Linked DNA regions of Homo sapiens: region 1 is linked to region 2. Evidence: promoter capture Hi-C in 16 types of primary human blood cells and fetal thymus (Javierre and others, 2016). All regions are on one chromosome and are shown on one strand. The core of a region is centred on a gene start or on the middle of the fragment in contact, and the rest is flanking DNA. Distances in the headings are between cores, read along the strand shown. Region 1 has its middle 11 kb from the start of FAM81A. Region 2 holds the start of SLTM (SAFB like transcription modulator).

Region 1 (3,006 bases), core at 323-2,822, 490 kb before region 2:
TCAAAATAATAATAATAATAATAATAATAATAATAATAATAATAATATCAAAAAGAATTCTCAGGACTAAGAAAAGCCCCAGAGTGATGTCAAGCAGGTCTGATGGAGAGCAATCACTGCAGATTGGATTAAGTAGAGGACTCATCTGACAAGGAATTAATAATCACAATATGTAAGGAATGCAACCAACTCTATAGGAAAAATATCTAATAATCCAATTTAAAATGGACAAAAGATCTGAATAGACATTTCTCACAAGAAGACATAGAAATGGCAAACAGGTGTATGAAAAGGTGCTCAACATCACTGATCATCAGAGAAACACAAATCAAAACTACAGTGAGACATCATCTCACCCGAGTTAAAACGGCTTTTATCCTAAAAGGCAATAACAAACGCTGGCAAAGATGTGCAGAAGAGGGAATCCTCGTACACTGTTGGTAGAAATGTAAATTAGCACAGCCACTATGGAGAACAGTTTGGAAGTTCTTCAAAAATCTAAAAATAGAGCTATCATATGACCCAGCAGTTTCACTGCCAGATACATACCCAAAAGAAAGGAAATCAGTATATCGAAGAGATATCTGCACTCTTATGTTTATCACAGCACTATTCACAATAACAAAAATTTGGAAGCAACCTAAGTGTATTCAGCAGATGAATGGATAAAGAAAATATGGTACCTATACACAATGGAATACTATTTAGCCATAAAAAAGAATGAGATCCTGTCATTTACAACAACATGGATGGAACTGGAGGTCATTATGTTAAGTAAAATAAAACAGGCACAGAAAGACAAACTTTGCATGTTCTCACTCATTTGTGGGAGCTAAAAATTAAAACAATTGAACTCATGGAGATAGACGGTAGAATGGCAGTTACCAGATGCTAGGAAGGAGAGTGGGGCCTAGCGGGGCAGTGTGGATGGTTAATGAGTATTAAAAAAACAGAATAAATAAGATCTAGTATTTCATAGCACAACAGGGTAACTTTTGCTATCAATAGGTCAATAATCATTTAATTGCACATTTAAAAATAGCTAAAAGAGGCGAGGCATGGTGGCTCAAGCCTGTAATCCCAGCACTTTGGGAGGCTGAGACAAGCAAATCACTTGAGGTCAGGAGTTTAAGACCAGCCTGGCCAACATGGAGAAACCCCGTCTCTACTAAAAATACAAAAATTAGCTGGGCTTGGTGGCATGCACCTGTGATCCCAGCTGCTCAGGAGGCTGAAGCAGGAGAATCACTTGAACCCAGGAGGCGGAGGCTGCAGTGAGCCGAGATCAGGCCACTGCACTCCAGCCTGGGTGACAGAGTGAGACTCGGTGCTCCCAAAAATAAAAAATAAAATAAAATAAAACCAAGAAGTAGAGCACTATAGGGAGGTCACTCCCAGGCAAATGGGAGAAAGAAACAGAAACAGATTGTCTGATATGTTTGATCTTAGCGAAGGGAATTACAGTTCTGTCAGAAAGCTTATAGATGAACTAGTGATATGTGCATAAAAAACTAATAGCCCAAGAAAAGGCAATGCTTAATGCTAAGAGTTAAAAGAAATGTGTTCAATCATACTTGACTCAGCTGTGAACAATAGTTATAATGTAAATATGTTACTGAGTGTTGGTTTAATGAAAGATTGCTATGTCACTCTATTGAGAAGCTTAGGGGGGAAGTGTATGTGGCAGAGGTATGTCGAGGCGTGTTGGAGAACTAAATCCTCACCTTCCTTAGTAGGAAGTGACTAGATAATGTCTAACAGTAAAAGATGAAGAAACATCAGTATAAGCAAGTTTGATTTTATAAACTGAGTACATGTATTTCTTTGTTTGTTTGTTTGGGTGTTTTTGAGACAGAGTTTCGCTCTTGTTGCCCACGCTGGAGTACAGTGGCGCAATCTCGGTTCACCGCAACCTCTGCCTCCTGGGTTCAAGCGATTCTCCTGCCTCAGCCTCCCAGTAGCTGGGATTACAGGCATGCGCCACCACGCCTGGCTAATTTTGTATTTTTAGTAGAGAAGTAGAGACGGGGTTTCTTCATGTTGGTCAGGCTGGTCTTGAACTCCCAACCTCAGGTGATCGCCCACCTCGGTCTCCCAAAGTGCTAGGATTACAGGCAAGAGCCATCACACCTGGTCAGTACGTGTATTTCTTAGAGCCAATTTTTTTTTTTAATCCAGAGTTAGGAGAAATAAATTATAGAATATTTTAAAAGTACTTGTACCTATTATTTTGAAATTCTTCTGGTTATTTCTTTAAGAGTCTTACTGCCTTTATTCCCAGGACATAATTTCTGTATTTCTGTTTTGGAGACAATTCAAAAAGTGTGGTTAGCAAACCACAATTCTTCCACTTTAGAATGGCATTATGAAGCCTTTTTTAGAGGACTAAAGACTAATTTAAAAACTAATTTTGTTCAAAAGAACATAAACTCATTGACTGCATAGCAAATTGTTCCAAATATATTTTAATAACTTTCTGACCAAACAAAATCAGAAGATGACTTTTAAGTTCAGTTTGAGCCCATTAAAAATAGAATAGCCAGCTGGGTGCAGTGGCTTATGCCTGTAAACCCAATAGGAGGCCAAGACAGGAGGATCGCCTGAGGCCAGGAGTTCAAGACAAGCCTGGGCAGCATAGTGAGACCCCCATCTCTACAAAATAAAATAATTATCCAGTCATGGTGATGCAGGCCTGTAGTCCCACTTACTCAGGAGGCTGAGGCAGGAGGCTCACTTAAGCCTGGCAGTTTGAAGCTGCAGTGAGCTATGATCATGCCACTGTACTCCAGTATAAGCAACAGAGTGAGATCCTGTCTCAAAAACAAACAAATAAACAAATAAAAGAATAGCCAAGGCAAAGCCTATTTTACTAAAACAAAAATATTTTCCAGATAGAGTATTCATTTAAAGTACGATTTTTCTGTGTGTAACTGTAATAATACTTTATAAAGCAATAAAAAAGAAAAAAACTATTTTAGCAATTTTTAAATAAGGCTTATGAATAAC
Region 2 (3,000 bases), core at 129-2,628:
ACCACCACACCCGGCTAATTTTTGTATTTTTTGTAGAGACGGGGTTTCTACTAAACCCTGTATCTTGGCCAGTTTGGTCTTGAACTCCTGACCTCAAGTGATGGGCCAGAAGATTTCTAAGGAGTCTTGCATTCTAAACTTCTATTATTGTGAATCCAATGTTGTAGCAGAGACAGAGCTGGATTTGGAATCAGGAGCCTGGGATTTGAGCACAGCTCGGCCACATACCAGCTGTGTGAACATGGGCAAGTCATTTAATCTCTCTAAGCCTCACGGAGATTTACTTGACAGACTTGGGAAGGATTAAGGGGGTTACTGTACGTCAAAGTGCCTTATAAACTGTAAAGAACTACCCTAATGTCAGGTATTCTTTTATAATGTCCAGTCTTCCTTTTTTTTGAGCCAATCAGAAAAAGTAACCTAAAGTGAGTCAGATCTCAGGAATTTAAGTTGTAAAACCAGGAAATACAGTATAGTTAATTGTGCATCATAATCACCTTATGGAATTTATAGAATCGTTTTATTTTATCAATGCTTGCACTTTGATAATGAATAATACAAGGTAAAATTACAAATAGGTACTCACTTGTACAGGCCGATCCTCCATAAGAAGATGCTCACTGTTCTTGGAATCCCAAATTTTGGGGGGCAAAATAGTGAACACAGTATATGATAACGGCAACAAGTACTTATAAGCTAGTTTTCTCTTTCATTGAACAATTTCGTGTTGAGCCATCAGGTCTACCGGGGAGGATAGCAAACCTGAGGCCAACAAGAAAGAAGTTTTCCTGTTTTTCAAGTGAGGAAGGGCAGCCCTAGAATAACCTAAGCTGCCATGGGCAGGGCGATGATGTTTTCTCCTGAGACAGCCAATGAGCCATGTGTCAAAGGCCAGCCCTTCCTATTCTTTGGACTAACAGCCCTAGAACTGCTTTGAGGTCTTTTGAATGGAACTCGGGGAACCTAGTTCGTTGGTGCACACCGGCGACAATTTTTCGATTATTCAGCAGAACTGATAAAGTATTTCCTTGAGAGGTTCAGCGCGCGCACGCGCCCCCTCGGTTTGTGTTGAGTAACGCGCGCACTATGTCATTCAGTGCCCGCACATCGTTGTTGCTCAAGACTCAAGACGTTGCAAGAAAATGGCTAACGAAGCGACGAGAGAACGGCGGCGCGGCGGACGTTGCTGCGGTAGGACGTGCCCGACCTCCCAGTCCACACAAGGGAGCGCACCGCCCAAGTGGCCGCGGCCCGCTCGACCGAGCGCGCCGCTGCCGGTCCCTGCGCCAACGCGCACGCGCGGCCGTCATCCGGGTGCTGGCGGCTGCTGCTGCAGGTTGCGCTAGGGTGGCGGACCGGGGGAGGGGCCAGCGGCTCATTGTGCGCAGCGCTGCGCGGCGCCGGCGGCCGCCGAGGCCTGGGTGGAAGTTGGCGCTGCTGCCGCCGCCCTGCAGCCCACTCGCTGCCTCGGCAGCGCGCTGCTCTTCTAAGATGGCTGCCGCTACCGGTGCGGTGGCAGCCTCGGCCGCCTCGGGTCAGGCGGAAGGTAAAAAGATCACCGATCTGCGGGTCATCGATCTGAAGTCCGAGCTGAAGCGGCGGAACTTAGACATCACCGGAGTCAAGACCGTGCTCATCTCCCGACTCAAGCAGGTGAGGCCCGGCGAGGACCGGAAAGGACCGGGAAGGGGAACTTAGGCCGCGCCTCGGCGCCCCGCTTCCGCCGCAGCCTCCGGCTGCCCGCAGCCGCTGGGACCTGCGGAACGGCATGGTAGGGAGGCCAGGGGCGGCTCCCGCGAGCGTGGAGGACGGGGACCCTTCCGCGGTGCCCCCGCCCCGCGCCCCGGGCCGGGCCGGGCCTGCGAGGGACCGGCCACCGCAGCCCAGCGTGCCTCCGCCTCCCCGGGACGTCCCCGCCAGGCTGCGAGGGTTGCGGCCGGCCGGCGCGGCCTCCCAAGGGCGATCGCGGAGACCTGGGAGGCGCTGGCTCCCCAGCCTTTAGCCATGGTGAGCGTGTGCATTTCTTGGCCTCAGAGGGAATGGTTACTTTGGTGACTTCTGCGAAGTTACCGTTTAATTGTGCCCAACCGTTTCTTCCCCATCTTGAGGGGGAATTGGTAGTGGGAGTTGATGGGTGGGTGACAGAGTTTTTGTTTTCCACTAGGCTTTTAGTTTTTGCATCAGCGCAATAATTACTTTTTCTTTCCTGATTAGCTTTCTGGTTTGAGTGAGCGTTGGAATTGTAGCAGAGGAGCAGTAAGTTTGCATTACAGAAACTAGGAAAACTCTTTTTAGTTATTTACTTTAGTAGCTAGCAACTTTTCTGCAATAGAACATATTTGGATTTTTGGCCAGTATGATGTGATATTTAATTATCTTGACACGGTAGAATTTAAAACTCCTTGCGATTTTGATACCTAATGATTTTTTTCCCCTGAAAGTTTCTCTCACTCTTTCGTGTAGTTTAATTGCTCATTTTTGAAGTCGGTTGATGAAATGACTGGCAATTCTAATGTCTTGAGGCTTGAGGTTTGCTAAATTTTTTTTCATTTCGTTTTTATAAAATAAGTTTAGATAGATTGTGTAGCATATTAACTTCTCTTTCTAATGTAGGCTATTGAAGAGGAAGGAGGCGATCCAGATAATATTGAATTAACTGTTTCAACTGATACTCCAAACAAGAAACCAACTAAAGGCAAAGGTTGTTACGAGTTATGAACATGTTTTAAAATATATTTTGGTTATATAACTTGCCTCTGCTCTTGTGCCTCTTGCCCTGTTTATATAGTGCTACTCTTTGCTATTTCCCTCTGGCAGTCTGCCTTCTTGGGTCAAGGAAGAAAAGTTACTGTTGCCAGGCTTTGGGTGACTTGTAGCCCTTAAGATTCGGCTGAAGCTGATTAGAAAGTGAGAACAGTTCTTTATTGCTTCCGGAAAAAATTACAAAGTCAAGTTGTGTAATGATGCTTCATAGTGTGAAGACCTGAATAAAATACAGTT

The links. The method cuts DNA at HindIII sites, captures the fragments that hold promoters and counts their contacts. A CHiCAGO score of 5 or more calls a contact.
Region 1: a contact is called between a fragment that was not itself captured here and the fragment with the promoter of SLTM in region 2, in 2 of 17 cell types (erythroblasts and naive B cells). The highest score is 5.2, in erythroblasts.

The regions. Positions count from the first base shown.
Region 1 is chr15:59,425,455-59,428,460 of GRCh38, reverse strand. It overlaps a transcript of FAM81A not described here. Among named protein-coding and RNA genes, the nearest start is that of FAM81A, 11 kb to the left of the region's middle. The HindIII fragment of the contact is 185 bases long and covers 1,480-1,664 here.
Region 2 is chr15:58,932,057-58,935,056 of GRCh38, reverse strand. SLTM (SAFB like transcription modulator) reads left to right here and starts at 1,378. Exons shown (of 21, transcript NM_024755.4): 1 at 1,378-1,653; 2 at 2,614-2,701. The coding sequence starts at 1,492. RefSeq lists enhancers at 932-1,021, 1,042-1,181, 1,472-1,711 and silencers at 1,212-1,391, 1,762-2,021. The HindIII fragment of the contact is 26,250 bases long and covers 1-3,000 here.